3 separate regions of the Homo sapiens genome follow, and all the other regions are linked to region 1. Evidence: promoter capture Hi-C in human tissues and cell types (Jung and others, 2019). All regions are on one chromosome and are shown on one strand. The core of a region is centred on a gene start or on the middle of the fragment in contact, and the rest is flanking DNA. Distances in the headings are between cores, read along the strand shown. Region 1 holds the start of HOXB13 (homeobox B13). Region 2 overlaps SKAP1 (src kinase associated phosphoprotein 1). Region 3 overlaps SKAP1 (src kinase associated phosphoprotein 1).

Region 1 (4,872 bases), core at 1,409-3,908:
TTCTCTGGAAGGAAGGACTGACTAGGGGCAGCCTGCTGGCTTCATTTTCACACGACAGAAAAATCATCGTATTAAGGATGGGTGCTTCCAAGACCAGTGGGTACACCCTATGGGGTGGACAAGGAGGGAGGAAGAGACAGCCTCTACAATTGTCCACCTACCCAGCTGTCAGCTGAGAAAAATGCTAAACGGACATCACAGCCACACAACGAATCTGCCCGTTCCCCTCTCCTCAGTCTTCCTGCTGTTACCAGGGTGAGAGGTGTAATGGAAGGGGGTCTGAGAGAAAGCTTCCCTGCAAAGGGATCGCCTTCCAAATTTATTCATAATTAGCTCAATTCATGAAAGCGGTTTCTAAAGTGCTCTACAGAGCTCTAGATAGAAAATATGAGGCTAACGATCATGGCAGCTAGTACTGGTTATCGTGATTATTGCCACTGTCAGGATGAATGATTATGACTGGGCCAGGTTCTTTGGGAACCCTGGTGGAGTGGGCTGTCACATGGGGTTCCGTCTCCCTGCACATACTGGGTACCCAGGCCGCTCCTGAGGAACAGTCCAGCAGCCAGTGGCCTGGGAAGGGTGTTGTCTCTAGGGGCCTCTCAGCAGAGTCCTTGGCCCCAGCCTGGGCTTGGCAGGTTCCTGGTCTCCCCAGGACACCCCCACTTTCGCTCCTCCCACCCAGGCAAGGAGATCTCTTAAGGGGTAGCGCTGTTCTTCACCTTGGCGAGAACCTTCTTCTCTTTGACCCGGCGGTTCTGAAACCAGATGGTAATCTGGCGCTCCGAGAGGCTGGTGGCTGCCGAGATCTTGCGCCTCTTGTCCTTGGTGATGAACTTGTTAGCCGCATACTCCCGCTCCAGCTCCCGCAACTGCCCCTTGCTGTACGGAATGCGTTTCTTGCGGCCGCGACGAAAGGCGCAGGCGTCAGGAGGGTGCTGCCCGCTGGAGTCTGCGCGGCGTGAAAGGGAGGGAGGAAAAGGCATGGTCAGATACCCACCCATGCAGACCCAGGCCTTGCAAGCCCCAAGCTAAGTCATCTCACAGGTGCACACAGGTCACCCTACAGGCGCACGTGCAATCCTGTTCCTCCAAAGCATACCAGGACAGCACCCTGGCTTCCGGCTTGTTCTCTCACCACCGCTCAGCCTTGGCTCCTGAAGGCCACCCTCACCCATCACTGCTCTCACACCCGCGAATCTGCAAACATACCCACACACCACACACAGTCAGGCCTTTGCCCACCATCACATACGTCCAGTCTTCATGCATTTCCAGACTCTTGGCCACTCTTTTAGATTCTACAGGCAAATTCTGGAAACACGTTTCTGCCCCCACTCCCAATACATGCGCATACACACACACACACACACATTAACCCATCCCAGTGCACACACATATGTCACGGCTGCAGGAAACCTAAATTTTTCTTTGGAAATTGGAAAACTCATCTAATAGAAAGTGAGAGGTTGTATTCTCTACAGTACATCCAATACCTTTTTACCCATCTCCCACACCCACTCCCCACGCACCGAATTGAGAGTTATTTAGCTTTTGTGTAGAATTAGTTTGGAATTGTGCTGGGTAGGGACACCCTGATCCCCACTCAACAGCAAAGAGATCTAAACCTCTCAGACATGTTGAAAGGCTGGTCCCAGGGCCTCCTGGAGAAGTGAGGTGGCCTTCAGGCTTCAGATAGCACCCAGCTCAGGCCCCTCACACTGACCTCCATCCAGGCCCTCCAGCTACTCAGACCTCCTTCAGAGTCCTAATAACCAAGGGAGGAGCACCAAGCTCATCCTCACCAGCTCCAAGTCTCCCTCCTCCTCCTCCCAGGGAAATGCCATTGGGACCCACAACCCCAGGCTCAGAGACAAGGGGACCCAGGGTAATAGAGGTACCTGCAAATGCTGCCTTCCAAAAGGGACCTGGTGGGTTCTGTTCTCCCTGGCAACACATCTGGCTGTTCCAGCCACCAGCGAGAGCCCAAGACTGGTAACTGTCCACAGGCAACAGGGAGTCATGTCGCGGTTCTCCAGGAGCACCCAGAGTCTGCACCACAGACACGTCCAGGTAACTGGCCATAGGCTGGTAGGTTCCCGGATATCCCGGATAGAAGGCAAACTCAGTGGGGCGGCTGGGGTACTCTTCCCCGGCCGTGGGAGTCTCCGCGGGGTACGCGGCCAGGGTGGCTGCCTGGGCACAGGGTTTCAGCGAGCTCCGGGACACTCGGCAGGAGTAGTACCCGCCTCCAAAGTAACCATAAGGCACGGGAGCTGGGGACGTCCCCTGGGGCACCCCAGGGCATGGGTGGCATTGCTTTGGCGGCTCCGCCGAGCCTGGCAGATCCAAGGGGGCATAGTTGACAGCAGGCATCAGCGTAGGCGCCGCTGGGTGGCTGGTCAGAGGGGAGTGGGCGACCAGATTCCGCCCCCCTCCCGCTCCCAGCAAGCCTTCGATATCCTTGGCTCCATCCAAGGTGGCATAATTGCCGGGCTCCATGGAGCCGAGGGTCGGCTCATGAGGTGCGGGGGCGGGGAATCTAGGGGGCACCCAGCTCGCTCTCCCCACCCAGGCCGGGGGAATCCAAAGCGTTTTAAATCGCTCCCAGCTCGCAAGTCGCCTGCATTCGCTCAGCACGGCCGTCTTGACGCAAGAGACGCAGGGGCCCGGGCACGCGCGCTGATTGGCTGCGGCCTGGGGGAGAGAAGCTAATAAAATCCTAAAGGCAGAAACTGCGAAAATACTTTACCCCAGCTTATTCTCTCTCTCTCTCTCTCTCTTTCTCTCTCTCTCTCTCTCTCTCTCTCTCTCTGTCTCTGTCTCTCTCTCTCGCTCTCTCGCTCTTTCTCTCCTCTCTCTCTTCTCCCTCTCTCTCTTCTTTTCCCTCTCCACTCCTCTCTCTCTCATTCCACTTAAAAACAACAAGAGAGAAAAGGAAGGAGGTGTCCTTTCGCTGCTTTCCAGTTTGCAGAGTCTCATTTACACGTCCGGGGGGAGGGGAGGCGTGGTGGGCGGAGGAAGAGGGGACGAGGAGCCGGGCCCCACCTCCTTCTCCTCCTCTCCCTCCCTAGCTTTCTGTCTCCTGCGCTTTGACAGGTTTAACGAGAGAATAAAAAGCTCTCTCTATAAAGTGTCCATCTCCTGGGGGGGAAGGGGAGTCGGGGGTGGGGCTGGGAGGCCGCTCCCGGCCTCAGAGGAGAACCCGGGAATGCGCCTGTGTAAGAGGAGGCTGGGAAATGGGGGTTAATAGGTATTTCTGGCAGCCCCTGGCTTTGGGTCCTGGGTACTAGCACCCCAGTTCATTCCCGGTACCCTTCCTGTCCCAGATGTCCTGGAATGAGCTGCTCCGGGCCCCAGGGAGGTGCCCTGGACGCCCCTTACCCAGGGACTCGCTACTGCCCAGAATGCTCTGGAGGCCCTGATTCGGGTGAGGCTGAGGGAAGAGGCGGGAGACACGAACGTAGACGTAGAAGACATGCGATCTGGATGGAACCCAGGACACTCCACTTCCGGACCTGAAGGGGAAATGGAGCCTCTAGAGTGGCCTGTGGAAGGGTCTGGATTTCCCTTTAAGTAAAGACATACGGAGGGACGGAGACCCACAGGACTTGAGGGAGGGACGGGGAGAGGGAGAGATGAGACTCAGGGACAGCAACACAAAGAGGGAAAGAGAGAAGCTGACAGAGCGGATGGGACAAAATCTTGTAAAATCCTGAAGTGTCAGTCAGAAAAGAGAAAGAAGAGAGGCACTTTCCCCCTTTTTTGGGATCTAAAGAAGTCTGAGGAAGCCAAGCCTGGCTGACTGCCAGAAACCAGCTGCGGGAGTTCTGGACCCCAAGAATACAGACGCCTGTGTGGAGATGCCAGTCTCCCTGCCCTGCAGTCCTCTCCCTATGGTCTGCAAGGGGCCCAGGAAACTGTCCCTGATACTGGCATACTCCCACACAAGCTGAGTACCCAGAAAGCCCAAGACCCCTATCTGCCTCCTGCAAGCTTTAAACTTCCTTACAAGGAAAAGGGAATGGAAGGGGAAACCCCAGCCACTGGCAGAATTGCTTGAGGCCCCTCTGTTGGGGCCTAATGTGCAGTGCAATTCAGAAGAATCAAACGGTTTGTTTCACAAATCTGTCTTTAGAGGTTTTCCGCTTCCTTTACTACCCCTCCCAAATCAAATCCTTCTGTCTGCTTTTTCTAGAACTCCCAGTTTTTCTGGAGAAGACAGGAATGTTTCCATTCTACACGAGGGTCTTGACAATTATATGGAATGGCTTACCCTAAACTCTGGGCAGACTCAATCATAGCCTCTCACCAACCTGACCTTGAACTTGAGCCACTTTGTGGGAAAGGGCCCACAGGCAGTAGTGTACATCACTCCTAATGAGCATTGCTATAATTGAAGACACCAAGCACGAAATCTTCACTAGATCGCATTTGAAAACAATATGGAAGAAAAGGGAGGAGATGTCTCTTCAGTGCTTTCCAGTTTCTCACCAGAGTTTCTTGCTTGTCTAATTATGAACTGCAGAAATATCCAGACTTTTACCTAAAGACTAAGAATTTTTCACCAATTTTTACTTGGTAGATGATAGATATGTAGGGCATGTCCACAGTTTTAGTTTCCACTAGGCAAACACCCACACATGCACATTTATTCATCCTTGTACAGTAGAGGCATTAATAGATCCCTAAATTTAAAAAATAATAATAGTCATAGTCATGCCCTATGACCCAGCAATTCCATTCCTGGGCATAAACCCAACAGAAATGAACCTTTATATCCATCAAAAGTCATGTACTAGTAGGTCCACAGCAGCTTTATCTGTAGTTGCTCAAAGCCACCCATGGCAGCGCACGCCTGTAATCCTAGCT
Region 2 (4,872 bases), core at 1,779-4,278, 510 kb before region 1:
TTTTTTTGAGACAGGGTCTCACTCTGTTGCTCAGGCTGGAGTACAGTGGTACAATCTCAGCTCACTGAAACCTCCACCTCCTGGGATCAAGGGATCCTCTCACCTCAGCCTCCAGAGTAGCTGCGACTACAGGTGCACACCATCATGCCAGGCTAATTTTTGTATTTTTTGTAGAGACAGGGTTTCGCCATGTTATCTAGGCTAGTCTCGAACTCCTGAGCTCAAGCGATTCAACCACCTCGGCCTCCCAAAGTGCTGGGATTACAGGTGTGAGCCACTGCACCTGGCCTGAATATTCATAAGAGATAAAATTTTGCCCTCTCTTTTGTCAGACATTCTCTAGAATGCATGTTCTTTCATGGACAGATTGGCAAATATTATAAGTATCAGATTCAAAACTTTCTAAGAAATTTAAATGTTGAATTCTTCTAATACAAGAAGCAAAAATTCCATTTTCAGCGTTTCATGTGTTGAGAGTGAAAAGGGGGAATATAAGAAAGAAGTGAAGTCCAGATTTCCTAAAGTACATCTCAGGTAAGCCTCTCTCTTATCACATATTTTATTTTTTTACCTGAAATATTTCAGAACTTAAATGTTTTTGTCAAATTTGAAAAAGGTGTGTGGTATTGACTTCTTCATACTGATCTCATTTTTATTTTCTTTATAGTCTGTCCAAATCATTTTCAGGCCCCTTAAATCAGTTACCTTTCTTCTAGGGACAATCAATAGAAAGCAAGCAAAAAGAAAAAAGAGTGAGACCTGCCCTCTCAGTGGTCTCCTGGGTAACTTTATCTCCCAGACAGGATGATGCAAAGATGAACAGAAGAGGGGTTTCTGAATAGATTTCCAGTAGGATTGCTGTCAAGATGGGATCAGCTGCAATGGTGCCAGATAAAAACTGCAGGAGACCGAGATGGGTGGATTGCTTGAGCTCAGGTGTTTGAGACCAGCCTGGGCAACAGGGCAAAACCCCATTTCTACAAAATACACAAAAATTAGCCTGGCCTGGTGGTGTGCACCTGTAGTCCCAGCTGCTCGGGAGGCTGAGGTGAGAGGATAGCTTGAGCCAAGAGGTCGAGACTGCAGTGGGCTGAGATTGTGCCACTGCACTCCAGCTTGGGTGACAGAGGAAGATATTGTCTCTAAATAAATAAATAAGAAAAGGTTAGGTAAAGGTAAAAATTATATGGAGTCCACTGCAATATCTCTTATCCAAAAGAAATTTGTTAAAAAAAAATTTTAACAGCTCAAACTACCTTTGAGGCTAATAAAGGCACCAAAATGGATTATCAGACCATGATTTGAGGTTTGAAAAAGGATGCCAGTGCTGACTGACTGGGAAGCTATTGGAAATAAATTAAAAGGCTACATTATGTGAAACAGAGGGTCACAGCATAGGAACATCTTGAAAAGCCATAGGTGCACCAATTACATTTATCAAGATGTTAGTGAAAGCTTTGTGTATGGCTTGTTTTTGCAGGTCATTTGTATGAGATATTGTTGGATAAACTGATTTCATAGAGAAGGAGGAAGGTACTAAGTATCACATTGTGTTAATGTGCCAGCTTGCCACCTTTGGGATCAGATTTGGTGCAGGGCACAAATGAAATGAGTTTGGTGGCTTCAAGCTAGGCTACCACTGATATTTATCCTTAAACAAAATCACAAATCATTTGCTAACAGCTAGGATCAGAGACCTGGGGCTGAGACAGTAAGAATGTTGCAGGTCAGGAGGAAGACTAGCTGGCAGAGTTGGGTTAGGGAAGCAGCCATTTCCTCTAGGTCTCCAGCTTGGCTTCAGCTTATGTTACCAACCAACCCTTCTCATCCATAAACACTGACATTCACACTGATTTTACAACCTCTCTTTGCCTGGCAAACCCAACATCAATATTCCCAACAGCATTTCATGAAACCTCTAGTTATCAAAGTCCTCATCACTTAATCAATTCTAAGAATAATAATTTCATAAACACTATGGAAAAGGAGTCCTATTATTAGACTGTAACTGTCCTTAGCAAAATAATGGAACTTGGTTGTTCTAGTGAATTCTAAATTTAAACACTGCTTGCTCTGTCTCCACTCAACGAAGAGCTTGTGTGCTACTCTGATGAAAATGCAAAGAATTAGAAAACAATGACTGTGTGAATGACATTTACAGAGATCTCATACTGGAAAGGGCACATTTTATTGTGACTTTGTGTCAAAAGTGTAGTTTCATCAGAGCACAGGAGGCAAAAGAAACAGGCAATCAATACTTGGGCCTCTAATATCTGAACTGAGAAAGAAAATCATTATCCTGTTACTTCTATTGTAGGGTGATGCTTGAAATACTGCACCTTGTTTCCATAATAATTCAATATTTTGGGGGTTTCAGATTGTTAAAAAAAAAACCCTCATGGGGTGGCCATGTGAAATCAGAACATGAAGAGTAGAAAGGAATAAACATGCACACATTTTACAGTGGGAATAAAGAGAAAGGCAGATTAAGAAAGAGAAATAGAAAAAATATAACAACCTAATTTCCTATTAGTATTTATCTAATAGTATATGTTTAATTTTGGAATCTCTAGAATTAACCTGAAAGAGTTCTTTGCTTCCAATTTTTTGAACAAAACACACAGATTTCCAATAGAGAAGAGTCCCCTCAATATTAATGAGGTTACTTGGGCAGAATTTTTATCTCTAGATTTATTGAAAATTGTATTCCATTGTTGAGAAACTAAAACCCAGGTGGGAACCATGTGGAATGTGACATTTGATTTTAAAAGTCAGTTGTACTATTCACTTCTCATTGGCAAAAAAACTGGCCACTGAACTTGAACTTCTTGCTGACAAAAGGAGAGGAATTATCATCCACAAACCTTTTTGAAACTCTTATATGTCCAGCCTCAAATAAAGCACCAGTTCTGCCTATTTCTAATATGACTGTTTATTGGTTAGTATTTTCAAAACACTTCAAGGCAATTAAACCCTTCCCCCTCTAGATTTCAGCATCCAGTTTAAAAGTCTCTCTGAATACATATTATGGAGAATAGGGTCATGTCAGTTAATGTTAGTTGCAAAAACAAGTACAGCTGTCCTCAACCTGACTTTCATACTTTTGTGTGTTGGTACCATAACCCAGTTATTTAAATTCTGGGTTTTTTCCTCTTAGAATTATTATTGATGAAATTAGCATTATATAGTCATAAAGTCATTACCTGCTTTTCTAGGCTGTCTGCTGCACCCCCATGGAGAGCTAAGTGGGCCCTTAATGAACAAGAAAAGGTTATCTGGCTGCACACGGTGTCTCCCAGTCTGCTCTGGCTAGAAGCTACAGCAGCCACAGATAACAGTTCAAAGTCATGCAAATGAGGGCTAGGCTACCACTTTGTTCCTCACAGAGGAGATGTTCCTGTGATCCACTGGCAAATGTACAATGGAAGCAGGAAAAAAGGATATTTTCAGAGACCTAATCCCTCCAGGCAGCTGGTTTATTTCAATTGAAGAAACTACTACAGCCACCCACCAGAATTGCTAAAATTAAGAAACACTGACAATACCAAGTATCAGTGAGAATGAGGAGCAACTGGAATTTTCACACATTGTTGGTGGGAGTAAAAATGGTACAAGTCTGTTGGAAAAATGTTTGGTAGAATCTCCTAAAGCGGAATACGCACATACCCTCTAATTCAGCAATTCCTCTCCTAGCTATATACCAAACAGAAATGCCAACATAGTGGTGCTCCAAAAGTCTGATATAAGATTGTTCACAACAGCATTATTTACAATATTTCCAAAGCAGAAAAAAACCATACGTTTACCTACCATAGAATGAAATAAAATGAATAAAGGAAATACTATATAGTAATGAGAACAAAGGAACTACATGTGTTTTGCTACATGCAAAAACACGGACAATCCTCACAAATATAATGCTAAATGAAAGAGTCCAGACACACAAAAGTATATATAGTATGAATCTGTTCATATGAAGTTCAAGTATAGGCAAAATTAATCTGGTGATAGAAGTCAGAATAGTAGTTATTTTGGTGGAGATAACTGGGACGGGGCATAAAGAGAAGTTTCAGGCCAGGTGCAGTGGCTCACGCCTGTAATCCCAGCACTTTGGGAGGCTGAGGTGGAAGGATCACTTGAGGTCAGGAGTTTGAGACCAGCATGGCCAACATGGTGGAACCCTGTTTCTACTGAAAATACAAAAGCCGGGCGTGGTTGCACATGCCTGTAATCCCAGCTACTTGGGAGGCTGAGGCACAAGAATCGCTTGAACCCAGGAGGTGGAGGTTGCAATAAGCCCAGATTGCGCCACTGCACTCCAGCCTGGGTGACAGAGCGAGACTCCATCTCAAAAAAAAAAAAAAAAAAAAAAAAAGAAAAGAAAAAAAAAAGAAAGAGAAGCTTTAGGGGTGCTGGTAATGTTCTATATCTTGATGTGGGTAGGGCTTACATAAGTGTGTTCACTTTGTTAAAAAAAATCACCAGGGTGGGCACGGTGGCTCACGCCTGTAATCCCAGTACTTTCGGAGGCCAAGGCAGGCGGATAACGAGGTCAGGACTTCCAGACCAGACTGACAAATATGGTGAAACCGCGTCTCTACTAAAAATATAAAAATTAGCTGGGCATGGTGATGCACATCTGTAATCCCAGCTACTCAGGAGGCTGAGGCAGGAGAAGCGCTTGAACCTGGGAGGTGGAGGTTGCAGTGAGCCAAGATTGCACCACTGCACTCCAGCCTGGGTGACAGAGTGAGACTCTGTCTCAATAAATAAATAAATAAATAAATCATTGAGTTCTACATTTATGATTTGCGCATTTTTCTGTATATATGATGTATTGCAATAAAAAAGTTGACAAAAAACTATCAAAGT
Region 3 (4,872 bases), core at 1,619-4,118, 480 kb before region 1:
AAGGAATGGTAGAATATTTTTTGGAGAAAGTTCTGTAAAAATCAAGAATCAACTCTTGGCATTATAACAATAAATGCTTATATGAAGTTTTATTTCTGTGATAGCTCTAACTCTTCGAAGGAACATTGCCACCACAATATTTCCATTTTGCAAATTGACTATACCTGGACTGTGATGTAAAATGTAACTCGTCACACACTATTACCTTCCAGTCTTTAGGTAATCAGATACAAACATTATAACTAATTTCTCAACTTAACTACAGGACTCTCCCATTTAAAACAAATATTACTGTGGAATTCTCTGGTGAAAAATGCTTGAGCAAGCCATCTCCCTCCCTGCCCTTTCAAATTCCCTGACTTCCCCTAGTAAAAATAAAAATAGGACTTTAAAGAGATATAATAAGCCCATGATTGGGTATTTTACCCCCAAAACAAAACTTCTTCCCTTTGTTCTATAAATCAGACAAACCCAATGGCAATAAGAAAGTTGTTCTCTTTGTGGTTTTGAGCTTTTTGCATGTGTAATTTGTCAAACAGTTCATCTTTTGGAAATAGGATCTTCACACTAAAAAGGAACAAAATCCTGTTTTTGCAAAGGGGAAAAAAAGGCCATGTTGAACATGGTAACATATATCCATACGAATAGTGCCAAAGAACTTAAAGTCCCTGATTTACATATATTGTGCTGATTGTTTGAGCATCAATATAAAAAATTTAATCTGTACTAATGGGCCTGGAGGAAGCGCAAATAAAACCGAGGAATAAGTACTTGTTTTGCAGTACAATGAATGCTATTAATATATATATAAAACAGGCTTCAGTGATGCATAAGCTATTGTATTCTAAAAATATTCCTACATTTTTGGCACTTTAAAAATGTATTACCTCACAAAGGACTATCAACCTATCTGCAGACTCTTAACCTGGGCTAGCATTAAGAAAGGAATCATTTCATTCTGCTTTTGTTACATGTACATAGATTTTGAACTAAGCAGATATGGCACCTGTTGGTTTTAAATGTCTCCTCCTCTAAGAAAAAGAAAGAAAAAAGTTCAGGAGAAGAAAAAGAAGAGATGTTAAATAAAAGACAAGAAACAAGGAACTAAGAGAATAAAATTATTTTCCCCACAGTGTGCAATGAAATCAAGCTACACTAATTCTACTTATAATAATGTTAGAAAATGGTTAGCCTTAATGCCTGATAATGACCAGAGCTAATGTGGTTCTGCTTTCAGTGTGGATAATGTTTAAGGAAGTAGCAGAATGCATGGCAGCTTTCCTGGACTATACAGTCAACTCCAATGAAGCCTTTTCTCCAGCTTGAGTCATAACCATAAATACTGCCCCATCCCCACATTCCAGTAACAAAGTCCTTCCTTCCTCCTTTGCCCCTAAACAAAGGGGACAACAGTGTGTTCGGTGGGAACATCTTGAAATAAGATAACACTCCCCAAATGGAAGGAAGTCACAGGGGAGATTGACGCCATAAAGGCAGTTCTATCCTATTGAAACGCCAGCAGATGGGGTCATAAACATTTCCTTCTCCCCTTGCTAACAGCCACCAAGTCAGCTTCATCTTTATCTTTATCTTTATCTTCCTGTCAGGTCATAAATACCTCTCACTCAAGCTTCACTCACAGCTGGGCCATGCCAAGCAAGTTTACTTCCTGTTAAAGGTTCCTTTCAGCAAACATTAACAAATAGTTGGGGGAAAGAAAACTGAAAATTCTGCTGATGATACACAGTTATAATATTCCAAAGGAAGCTTGGAAACCTCAAAGAAAGGGTTTGGCCAGACTAAGAAATGACCAAACTGCCTAGCAAAAAGCATGGAGATCCACTTAAAAGAAGATGCGTTCACAGGGAAAATGAGTCAAATAATTAGTTAAAACTTATATTTACATCCAAACAAAATAAAAGAGCTGAATAGTGTCATGGGCTTTCATTCTTTCTTCTAGAACCTCCAAATGATGCATGGATGCTTGCCATTTGTTCCTGAGTCTAAAACCTGGACCATAATCGTAGAAAATGAAAACAGAAGATTTCTAGGAGTAGTAACTCAATACAAAGTCATGCTTAGGCCAAAGGTTAGAGAAAGAACACACCCCTTTACTTTCAGAATTTTGGCTCATGAGGAAGGAGTAACCTGACTCTCTTTCCTTCCTGGGGAACAGTTTTACACTTGGGAAACCATCTGCCTGAAGTACTGCTGGCAGCTCCAAAATTATAGAATCTAAAATGGTAGGAACCTGGAAAATAGTAGGTATCTTCCTCCTTGACTTGGCTGGAGCAGCTGCCCCTCTTGAATTTCTGGGATATAAGATTACAACCAAAAATGACTGTAGTCTTTCTAAAACACAACCCACAATCTGATTTTTTTTTCTTTTTTCTTTTTGTAAAAGCATCATTTTAAGGAACACATTCTGACAAAATAGTTAAGTCTTTTAAAATTACGATAGTGACAGGTTGCTGTTGATTACGAGAAGTAGACTTTTGCTCCAACAGGGATTGTTTAAAAGTGCCTTTATTATGCTTTAGAACGACTGATCCATACTGGCTTATTTCACTCAATCTTTCAATTTTTACATGTGCTTCTAGATAACATGTGACTTTAAAGAGAGAAAAATGAAGACAGCACTTACTATAATAAGTTTTCTATGGTAGTTATAACAAATGGGTTTGAATTCCAGCTCTGACACTTTACTAGCTGTGTGACTTTGGGAAAGTTACTTAACCTCTCTGTGCTTCAATGTCCTCATCTATAAAATGTACAATAAGAGGCCGGGTGCGGTGGCTCACACCTGTAATCCCAACACTTTGGGAGGTCAAGGTGGGTGGATCACTGGAGGTCAGGAGTTCGAGACCAGCCTGGCCAACAGGGTGAAACCCTGTCTCTACTAAAAATATAAAAATTAGCCAGTGTAGTGGTGCATGCCTGTAATCCCAGCTACTCAAGAGGCTGAGGCAGGATAATCGCTTGAACCCAGAAGGCAGAGGTTGCAGTGACCCAAGATTGTGCCACTGTACTCCAGCCTGGGTGACAGAGCTAGACTCCGTCTCAAAACAACAACAACAACAATAACAAAAAACAACAAAAAAACCCACAAAAATTTACAATAATAATGCCTTTCTCAACGGGTTGCTATAAATTAAAATACATAAATCACTTAGAACAGAGCCTGGCACATTGTAGGGGCTCTGTACATTTTAACACACATATAAAATGGAAGACTTAGGTAATTTCATTATCCGTACTGTATCTAAAGCAAAGGATATTGGTTATATTCTTAAAAATCTTTAATTAAGCTGAATATTATACTTCAGACTAGCATTCAAAGGTTTCCAAAAATTAGGCTGGTTTACCTTTACTGTCTCCTCTCATCATCCTCCTACAATTAAGTAACCCTTGTTAGACCGGACTATTTGGTGTTTCCTGAACACATTCTACATTTCCCCACACCTACACCTTTGTGGGTATAGCCCCGTTGCCCTGGAGTTCACTATTCTCACTTCTATCTTCCCCTATCTCTACCTGTTAAAATCATAGCATAGCAGAGGTTCTCTCATTCAAACCATAAAGCTTTATTTTATTTTTTATTTTTATAGTCATCCTTCAAAGCCTGATTCAAATACGGTTCTTCATGGAGTTCTAGAGCTGGAAGAGCTTTAGAGACTAAATGATCTAATTTCTCCTTTTACTAAGGCATGCAGAGATTAAGTGATCTGCCCAAAGACATCAAGCTACAGCTTGGACCACATTTCAGGTCTCCTAACAGTGCAGAGATCTCTGAGAGTTAATCACCCAATCCTGCTGGTCTTTTTCATCACTCTAATCTAAACTGACTGATCTCCTTGGAGCTGCTATGTACTTACAGTACTTATCACACAGCCTCTTGAATTTCAGTTACTTGGGTGCATAACTTATCTCCCACGTCATCTCTCATGTGCCTTTGACACCTCTGTCTATCCCTGGAATGCTTAGAACAGTCTTAACCAGAAGGCATTTAGTAAATATTTGTTGAATTAATGTATGAATGAATGTTAGAAAGAAGGAAATTAAACAACCTTTCCCATCCCCCTGACTCATACCTCTCGCAGTCTCAAAAGTTCTCTCTAACCCAACTATCTGAATTGAACCATCAATTCTAGTGCACAATAAATAAATACCTCCACATCTGCAGAAAAGTGTCACTATACCTAATACATATACACAAATTCACTTACTTTACAAAAGTCTCTGTGTACTCACTGTGTGCATTTCACTTCCAAGTATGCACACAATTTACCAAAGAAGTAGGAGACCAAACCCTGCCTTCCTATTAGTCACATTCCATTGGGAAGACCTGTATACAGCACAACTAGACATCTATTAACTAAGCACCATGAAAGCATGGACATGATAACGAAGGCAAATAGCTAGAAAAAGGGATTCAGGGAGGCTAAAGAAGTAGTAGTTACAGAGGAAGCTGCCAATACTATGCAGCATATCTTATGCTGTCTCTTTTATGGGGCTGCAATTTGCAAGCTAAGCCCAATACAATTTGTTTCCTTCTATCCAATACTTCTGATTTCTTTTCCTCTATCATTCATTTTCTTTACTCAATGATTTAAAGGTAACCGTCTTTTCCTACCTCACAAAAGTTTTAGTTGCTGACCAAAGTTTGACTAAATATCATTTCACGTGTATTTTTCCAGTTGGAGATAGTAAGTCATAGTAACAATACATACACCACCTTTAATTTTTCAAAGTGTTTATATATATATTTTTTCATCCTTTTTCCCCCAGTAAACTCAGCAGGGAGGTGTCAAGTGCAAACCGCATACTATAGATGCATACTCGATGCATAACAGCTACACTTTAATTTTGCAA

The links. The method cuts DNA at HindIII sites, captures the fragments that hold promoters and counts their contacts. A contact is called where the count stands out against the background at its distance.
Region 2: a fragment that was not itself captured here is called in contact with the fragment with the promoter of HOXB13 in region 1 in 2 of the 25 tissues and cell types used here (pancreas and thymus).
Region 3: a contact is called between a fragment that was not itself captured here and the fragment with the promoter of HOXB13 in region 1, in 1 of the 25 tissues and cell types used here (IMR-90 fibroblasts).

The regions. Positions count from the first base shown.
Region 1 is chr17:48,726,092-48,730,963 of GRCh38, forward strand. It overlaps HOXB13 (homeobox B13), which reads right to left and starts at 2,659. Exons shown (of 2, transcript NM_006361.6): 1 at 1,902-2,659; 2 at 1-952. The coding sequence starts at 2,502. The coding sequence ends at 699. The HindIII fragment of the contact is 5,391 bases long and covers 2,144-4,872 here.
Region 2 is chr17:48,216,503-48,221,374 of GRCh38, forward strand. The region is part of intron 4 of SKAP1 (src kinase associated phosphoprotein 1); the gene reads right to left. Among named protein-coding and RNA genes, the nearest start is that of MIR1203, 62 kb to the left of the region's middle. RefSeq lists an enhancer at 2,835-3,677. The HindIII fragment of the contact is 4,962 bases long and covers 548-4,872 here.
Region 3 is chr17:48,242,913-48,247,784 of GRCh38, forward strand. The region is part of intron 4 of SKAP1 (src kinase associated phosphoprotein 1); the gene reads right to left. Among named protein-coding and RNA genes, the nearest start is that of SKAP1-AS2, 49 kb to the right of the region's middle. The HindIII fragment of the contact is 4,898 bases long and covers 420-4,872 here.